3 separate regions of the Homo sapiens genome follow, and all the other regions are linked to region 2. Evidence: promoter capture Hi-C in 16 types of primary human blood cells and fetal thymus (Javierre and others, 2016). All regions are on one chromosome and are shown on one strand. Each heading gives the region's core, a stretch centred on a gene start or on the middle of the fragment in contact. The rest is flanking DNA. Distances are from core to core; before and after follow the strand shown. Region 1 overlaps LOC101929710 (a long non-coding RNA gene). Region 2 holds the start of RFESD (Rieske Fe-S domain containing). Region 3 overlaps LOC101929710 (a long non-coding RNA gene).

Region 1 (2,758 bases), core at 174-2,673, 970 kb before region 2:
GCAGCAGCACAGACAGTGCTGACTGAGTCAATGGGAGAGATGGTTATGGCAGAGTAAGGGGAGAGGAGGAAGTGAGACCTGCCTAGGGACTGCCAAATGCCATCCTGTACAGCTGCTCTTTGGCTTACGATGGGATAAACTTACTGGAAATAGAAAATATTGTAAGTCAAAAATGCACTTAATACACCAAAGCTGCTGAACATCATAGTTTAGCCTAGCTTACCTTAAATATGCTCCAACAATTACAATAGCCTGTGGTTGGGCAAATCATCTAACACAAAGCCTGTTTTATAATAAAGTGCTGAATATCTCATGTAATGTATTGAATATTGTACTGAAATTGAAAAACAGAATTGAATTGCTGTATGGGTACTCCAAGTACAGCTTCTACTGAATGCATATGATTTCTGCACCATCGTAAAGTTCAAAAATCTTAAGTTGAACTATTGAAATTTGGGGGCTGCCTATACTAGGCTAAAGCCTACTCACAGCTCACTCAAGGCAGCGCTGAGGGCCTCCCCAGTGCCCAAATTATTGCTTTTAAGTAACTAAAAGGCAAGAGAATATAATGAACTCATTAGCCTTCTTAGTGACAGGTGCCTCATTTTACCAAGCTTAGGGTGGGAGCAGTACAAGATGATGGATCCTTTTCATAATTCAACTATATATATATATTCAGTTTTTAAAAAGAAAAAAAGCACTGAGGAAGAGGGGTAATCTGGCACCCCTGGGGAGAGGCTGGGCCTAGGCTTTGGATGGAGGTGGGTCCCTGGCATTATTCTTGGATTTCCTCTGAATCTTTGGACTCTGTTTCAGGTTTATCTGCCTGAATAGCTTCCCGTTCCCCACAGTGAATGAATCATTTCCTCTTCTAATCCCCTGCCAAACATTTCAAATCATGTTTCCTTTTCTTGGTTAAGTACCTAAATTGAACTCACTGTGATGAAAAAGCAACCCATGGAAAACAGTTTTCATTCTCATTTATAAGCCTCCTGCCATAAGGTTTTTGGGAGAAGCTCGTGGGCATGTCCCGGCTGGATGCTTTTGCTGAAAATCCCTTGTCAACACTGAGGCGCTGTAGTAGGTAAGATTGCACACAGCATCAGGAGTGAAAGGCCCTGATTCTGATTCACTTCACCGCAATAACCTAACGAGTCAGGCATTTGCCAACAGCTAACACTCCATCCAGAGGGAAATGGAATCATTTGAGACAAAATGATGAGCTTCTGCTGCCATCTGGTGGAGTTCTCACCTTTAATCATGTTAATTAAAGGGTTCCTCACCAGAAAATGCTGTAGAGTTAGTGGTGGTTCTGGAAGGGGTTCCTTGGACCGGCAGCATTTGTATTACCTGGTCACTTACTGCTGATGATATATTGTTAGTTACTTTATACCTTAGATTCCTTCATTACAAAATAGACATAAAACATCTAACTCATAGGGCTGTGAGGATACCCAGCCTCACAATGCAGATAAATGAACAACAATTTAAAAAACAGTATAAGGCACCCAGTATTAAATCTAACAAAAGATGTGCAATTATTTTAAAAAGTATAAAATTTCATTGAAAGACATTTGGGAATACCTAAATATTTGCAGGCTCCACCCCAGACCTACAGGATTAAGATGTACATTGTAATAGAAGTCCCAGGTTATTTGTATAGAGAATAAAGTTTGAGGTACTTAACGTTTTCTCCAGGGAGATAGGTAGTTACTATTGTTGTTGTTGTTTTGTGCCTTTGAATACCCTTAAGTTGTTTCATTTAAAAATGCTTTAAAGACAATCATCAGAAGACAGAGTATGGATTGGAGGTTAAGAACACAGAATTTGGGGTCAGATAGAACTTGTTTTGCATCCCGTCCCCATCACTGACTACTGATAACATGGTGAGTTACTTAATCTTTCTGGACCTTAGTTTCCTTAGCTAGAAAATGAACGTGAAAATATCTAACTCATAGGGTTGTGAAGACTTAAACAGAAAATACAGATAGCACAAATAGTAGTATTACAAAATCTGAAGTACCTAGTATTAAATCTAACAAAGGATGTGCAAATATGAAAAAAGTATGAAATTTCATTGAAAGACCTTCGAGAATACTTAAATGAAAGGAGAGATGAAACCATGTTCAAGGATAAGAAGAAAACTGTCATTCATCTTCAAATCCATCTATTCTAATGCAATTCAAATTATAACCTCAACTGGATTTTTATTGCTGAACTTGACAAGCTTATTTCAAAATTTGAATGGAAGAAAACAGCTAGGAATAGAAAATTCTGAAAGAGAAGAAGATGGAGAGGGTCACTCTACCAGATATCAAGACTTATTATAAAACTATAGTAGTTCAGGCAGTGTGCTATTGGCACAGTGATGGATGACTTGCCAGTGGAACAGAATAGAGAGTTCAGAAAGAGACTCATACATATTTGGAAATTGGATACATGAAGCAGTGGCATTACAAATCAATAGAACATGCATGGGCTAACTGATAAACATTAATTGGTTACCCACAGAGAAAAATTACATGTACTGTGTATTTACACATGTATATATGTGTGTATGTATGTATATATGTGTGTATATTTATTTAGACTTCTTGTTTATATCATACACAAAGATAAATTGTTACCCCGTTGATAAGAGATCTAAACATCTAAAGCAAAACTAAAATAAGTTTGAGGAAAATGCAGAAGAATTTTTGCATAATCTCAGTGTAAGAAAGAGCATATTAACAAAATCCAGTAAACCAAAATTATAAAG
Region 2 (2,882 bases), core at 283-2,782:
TCGTTGTGTTTCATGTTCTCTTCGAGAAAAATTTTTGGCCTGTCCCTAAAATTGGTTTCTAAAGGTGCTAACTCCATATAAAATTACAAATTAGCTAAATGGATACTCGGTCACTATTAGATTCCTTTCCAACAAAGGAAATAAATTCAAGTGGAATTTAAAAAAATATTTAGTGTAACTCAAATTTCCACAAGACACGGGAGATAAAAGAAACATGAAGTGAAACGTACTTACTTGTCACTCGTCTTGAACCATGACTAAGATGCTTTTACCAAGTGTGGAAACTTTGCCTACACATTATCAGAATGCTTATCTCAAGTATGACACCCTTGCTTTTACATGCAGGGAAGAGAAATGCCTTAGAGAGTAGTTTTGGTATCTCTCTGAATGGCAGAATAATAACAGATAAAACTAGCTGTCCTTTAGTAAATGCCTACTGCTTGGACCCTTTGAATATAATAGTTCATTAGTCTTCACAAAACCGCCAACGGGTAGGCATTAGTTTTATTCAGGTAGCACCCACGTTTTTATAAAAACATGAGGCTTGCAAGTAAACTATCCTGAAGACACAGAAACCTTTTAGCAAAGCAAATATGTATATTGGTGATATATATAGTATTGATATTTATATTTGTCACCAAAGATGGTCCTGAATTAAAAAAAAAAAGGAACGCTAATGTGCAACAGCTATGTTCACGAATGTTTACAATTGAACGCTTGCCCAATAATTTTATATAAAGTCACAGAGCTGCTCTGGAAATCAGCACCATCGTATGATGTTGAATTGTGATCACGAGTGAGCTAGACCTGGGTTTGCATCCCAGTTCTGCGTGATTTGGGGCAAGTTGCTTAACTTCGCTGTGCTGCAGTTTCTTTTACTTTAAGAAGGGCCCGCCACATAGGGGTGTGGGTAAAGCACATAAATGCTTTAACACATGTCAAATGTTTAGAGCAGGCCTAACCGCAGAAAACGCTCACAGCGCGTTAGCTGGCACCTCTAAGGTCCATCCAGCTCTGGCAGTTATCCTGCCTAACTTCAAGTTGTGTTTAACATTTCGGTAAAGACCGCCTGCAGTTCTGAGACTGCACGTGGCTGTCCAGGTGCTGCAAATTCTCGACACAGACTCCAGGAGGCGAGTATCTCCAGGACGGCCGGGGCTGCGGAAGCCCTGGAGCAGCTTCTATACTTTAGAGCTTTCATGGCACAAATGCCATGAAAGCTTGTTAAAAACGACCCGCGTACCCCCCTTAGGTGGCAGGTCTCAGGTGTGGCCCAAGTTTCAAGGTGAACAAGCTCGGTGAGTCTCCTGTGCCTGGGCGGAAGCCCGCCTTGGCGGGTTAACCGTTAACTAACGCTGAACCAAAACCCAAGAGGGCCTCAGGCCCCGCAGCGGCGCGGCCACAGCCGGAATGAGGAGTCCACGCCCGCAGCCCAGCCGGAAGCAGCTGGTCCCGCCAGCCCGCCCCCTGCGCGGCGAGAACAGAACTTACTGTCCCCGAGTCCTCGCTCCGCCTCCGCGTGACGCTACTGCACGAGCCAGAGCTCCAGACGTGCGCGGCGCCTCGACGGGGGCGGGGCGAGGCCGTCCACGTGACCCAAGAAGGCCCGCCCCCGGGACCGCCTCTATGGCATTGCCGGCAGATGACCCTGGTTGATAGAGATCTCTGGCCAACAGCGCCGCGCCAGCACCTTCAAACTGGCAGGCATACTCGTGTACTTGACAAATGTGGATAGCATCAGTTTACTTTTTAGTTGTTTGTTGATCTCATTACATTTATTCAAATTTTAGATGCGCCCAGCGACTTCATTCAGTTATTTACCCTATAAAAATATTTGCAGAAGGTCGTCGCGATGCTGGTAACCCATGTATAAGGATGTTAAGGCCGGGCGCGGTGGTTCACGCCTGTAATCCCAGTACTTTGGGAGGCCGAGGCGGGCGAATCACCTGAGGTCGGGAGTTTGAGACCAGCCTGACCAACATGGAGAAACCCCATCTCTACTAAAAATACAAAATTAGCCGGGCGTGGTGGCCCAGGCCTGTAATCGCAGGTACTCAGGAGGCTGAGGCAGGAGAATCGCTTTGAATCCAGGAGGCAGAGGTTGCGGTGAGCCGAGATCGCGCCGTTGCACTCCAGCCTGGACAACACGAGCGAAACTCCATCTCAAAAAAAAAAAAAATGTTTATTGCTGTGAAGTAGTGAAAATAGCTGAAGTGATAACACGGAGGAATGGTTCAATAAAACACAGCACAACAGTACAGACATGTGAATTACTTCGTAGCTGTGTACTGTATACTCAAAGGACAGGCCCATCATGTAATGAATATTAAAGGCAAAGCGTAGAATACTATATATGGTGTCCTCTCTTTAATGTAAACAATTATTTTTTGAAATACAAACATGCAGGTATGTACATAAACTTTTTCTCGAAAAATCAAAAGAAACAATAGTGGTTGCTTTGGGAGGAGATGGAGAGTTTTCACTTTCATATTATGAACTTTGCAATTTTGCTTTTTTCTCATTGTACTTCCCTGAATTGACAACAACAACAACAAAGAAAACCACCAAAACCCTCATATTTGTGTTCCGAGCTGGGAAACTAGATGAGCCTAAGTTTTTAATTTCCTTGACTACTTTCCAGTGCAGTGATTCTTAACCCTGGCTATGCCTTAGAGTCGCTTGGGAGTTTTGAAAAGTCGTAATGCCCAGTCTGTATGCCAGACCAACAAAATAAAACACAGATTATTTGGGGTGGGAAGGGAGTGGGCAGATTCAATGTATGTTTTTAACTTCCTGAGTGATTCCAGTGTGAACCCAAGGTTGAACACTACAACTTGTATTTAGTATGGTGACATAGTGATCTCAGGCTCTAGGGTGGCCCA
Region 3 (2,894 bases), core at 246-2,745, 690 kb before region 2:
TGCATCTGAAGTATACTCACTGAAGCTTCCTTAGACAAACATAGCAATGGTAGATTTTGACTATGAATTACAGACTATTTCATGTCCATTATCATTCATTTAGTAACGAGCATCATAAGTTCAGTATATAGACTTACAGCTGTAATGTAAGTTAATTTCTAAATGGAAAATAGTCATAGTATATACTGCGTAGAGCTTGGAGCAAATCTTACAGCTTACTGTTTTGGAAGATGTGAAAGTTTCTTGTAAAGTCAAGTAAATGATAATCAAAGTGGGAAGCAACATCCTCCTTTGAAGGGTGATGCTTCAGTGTGAAGAGGTTATAAACTGGGGTAAACAACAACAGCTCTTAGGCAACAAAGGAGGATTTACCTCGATTCTTCTCTGTTGGCCATTGCTCCTACCGGGACCTGGCAGTCAACGGAGTGAACAAACACATCACGAATATTACTGGATTTCAGAGTCTATTAGGAGCCAACAAGCTGATTCAATCCTTACTAAAAACCCACAGTTCCAAAGATTCAAAGCCAAGATCACTGAATTACTAACTCATTAAAAACGGAAATAAAAATTGAATCAGCCAAAGCAACTCAGAACAAAGATGAAAAACAAGTTAACCATGGTGGGGAGGGTAGGGGGAGAGTGGGGGTTGAGGGCAGAAGGGGCGAGCTGCTTTCAGCATCAAGTTCTTTCTACAAAAGGACCTGAGCTGAAATGAAACAGTTTGCCAGAGGCTTCTAGAGATAAAGGTGGACTCCCGCAGAAAATGTTCCAGATCCTGGGAAGACAACAGCGCAAATTAGATAAGAGTGTATCCTTGTTTAATAGTTGGCATTAGATGCTGCAAAATATAACCTTGAGGTAAATAGCAAAGACATGGCTTTCCTTCTTTCTCTTAATACTGACTGCTTAAAAAATTTTGCCCAGTCATTGTTTCCTGTCCGATTACCATAAAGTCTTTCTGTGATGCTTTCCTCATTGAAAGGCCATGAGTTCAGGCAAGACTTTTAAGTGTCTAGGGGTTGAAGATAGGATCCTAACCCACAGAGCTCAAGGCACTTTGTCTCTTTCCACCTATAGCCTGTCTACCTGTCTCTCTCAGGAACCTAGGAGGGATTCTCAGAGGGCCACCCTGGGGAGATAGCCACACTCAGTTTACTAGGTTTACTGTGTTCTCTGCAGCTTTGGGCTCAGAGGGTCAACTACTCGCTCTACCTGCAAATCAAACACAGAAGAGTTCCTGTCCTCAGCAGGACTCACCTTAGCTCTCCTCCAAGGACAAGTGTATCCATAACTGGTATGGATACACTTGCATTTAACAAGGATATTTGTATTATTTGGCTACATGCCTATGACTTCAAGTTTTATGTTAGGTGTCCTTGTCACTTAAACTCTGGGGCTTTGTCCAGATATAACTGTGTTCTTCCAATGAAACAAATTTAGATCTCTTTGCACTTTTGGGTTTTCCCCCAGCTCACTGTGTGATTTTAGCTTAATCACTTAATTCTCCCACTCTTCCATTTCCCATCTATCATGTGCAATGTTATGACCAATAATTAGTGAATGGCAATAACTTGAACTTACAAAAGGCCTTCCTTCCAGGAAACTCACAATACTTCATGAGGGCTAGTTGGTATCCTTCACAAAACCCCAGTGAGAAACGTTTTGCTTTTTATACTGTTTTTCTACTTGGTTCTATTTTTATAGATGCACCAAGAAGATTAAATAAGTTTCTTGGGGTCGTATGTTATCTTGGTGTCACATATTTTCTTGGTAGCATGTTATCAAAAGCCTTTGATGGTGCTCTTCTGGCAATGCTGTTCAAATCAAGTTGCACAGCTAAAGTACTTAGTGTTGGTAACTGGCAACAATCAAAAACTATAATAATCACCCGTAAAGCTGGAGACCTGGCCCCTCATTATGTTAGCACATATTAGGAAATATGTTTTGCTACTTTTTTCTTCCAGTAATGGTTATTATTTCCCAGTCAAATCCAAGTTCTGTTGCTGTTACTGAAATGGAGCAGAGTGCCCATGAGCCAATGCCTGGCAGTGCACTCCAAGCAGCCTCCACTGTCACAACACAAAAAACCAAACCATCTACAGAGCCAGAATGGCACACAGAGGAAGACAGAAACATGAGAAGTAGCCTTGCCAAAGTCCAAAGGTCTGAGCAAGAACACCAGGAGCCAAGTCTCTAGAGCACAAACAACCAGGCAGAAGGGCTCCCAGGAACAGGATGTTCTGCGGCATTTCCAAAAACCCCTGGCCTCTGGGCACGGCATCCAGAGCTCACCAAGCACCCTCTTCCCAGGGGTTCGCTTCCAGAAAGAGAAATATAATATACTTTGGAATGAGCAGCAAGCTATCCACCAAATCACATTTCTACTTATTGAAAAGTGAATCTCTTTAGACTAAATCTCAGAGCAAAGTTGTTTGGGGGGAGAAGTGATGTGATCAACTTTTCCCACTCCAGACTCAGAGTTCAATACTTTCTATTATCTAAATATACCTGTTTAGGCCTTGTGAGTTACCTATATTGTAACCACTACCTACAGAAATTTACAAGTTCTAATAATACCATAAACAAGGATTACAAAGGAAGAAGGAAGGAAAGAATAGGATAATAAATGAAGCAAAGTATGAAGAAAGCAGAAGTAAAACAGCATAAGGCAGCATATAGCATTAAGTCATAAGTCAAAAAACGATGCAGAGTTTTTGAAACTCTCAAGAATATTTGAAACTGAAATTTGAAGTGCATAAATGCATTTGAAATATGAAAGCAGAATAAAAATAGGTTTGTTGTTTTGTTTGTTGAACGTTTCAACCTAACAGAAGATGATGACAGAACTTCTTAATGATTATGGTCTAACAATTGTTGTGTCATAACTTTCA

Evidence for each region. Contacts are between HindIII fragments. The CHiCAGO score rates a contact against its expected background, and 5 or more counts as called.
Region 1: a fragment that was not itself captured here is called in contact with the fragment with the promoter of RFESD in region 2 in 1 of 17 cell types (M0 macrophages); the score reaches 5.4 in M0 macrophages.
Region 3: a fragment that was not itself captured here is called in contact with the fragment with the promoter of RFESD in region 2 in 4 of 17 cell types (erythroblasts, endothelial precursors, megakaryocytes and 1 more); the score reaches 7.7 in erythroblasts.

The regions. Positions count from the first base shown.
Region 1 is chr5:96,612,676-96,615,433 of GRCh38, reverse strand. All of the region lies in intron 4 of LOC101929710 (a long non-coding RNA gene), which reads right to left. It also overlaps a transcript of CAST not described here. Among named protein-coding and RNA genes, the nearest start is that of CAST, 48 kb to the left of the region's middle. The HindIII fragment of the contact is 1,613 bases long and covers 617-2,229 here.
Region 2 is chr5:95,645,427-95,648,308 of GRCh38, reverse strand. RFESD (Rieske Fe-S domain containing) reads right to left here and starts at 1,532. Exons shown (of 6, transcript NM_001131066.2): 1 at 1,492-1,532. The HindIII fragment of the contact is 4,150 bases long and covers 1,223-2,882 here.
Region 3 is chr5:96,338,106-96,340,999 of GRCh38, reverse strand. All of the region lies in intron 3 of LOC101929710 (a long non-coding RNA gene), which reads right to left. The region is part of intron 1 of LOC107986365 (a long non-coding RNA gene); the gene reads right to left. It also overlaps a transcript of CAST not described here. Among named protein-coding and RNA genes, the nearest start is that of PCSK1, 94 kb to the left of the region's middle. The HindIII fragment of the contact is 2,936 bases long and covers 28-2,894 here.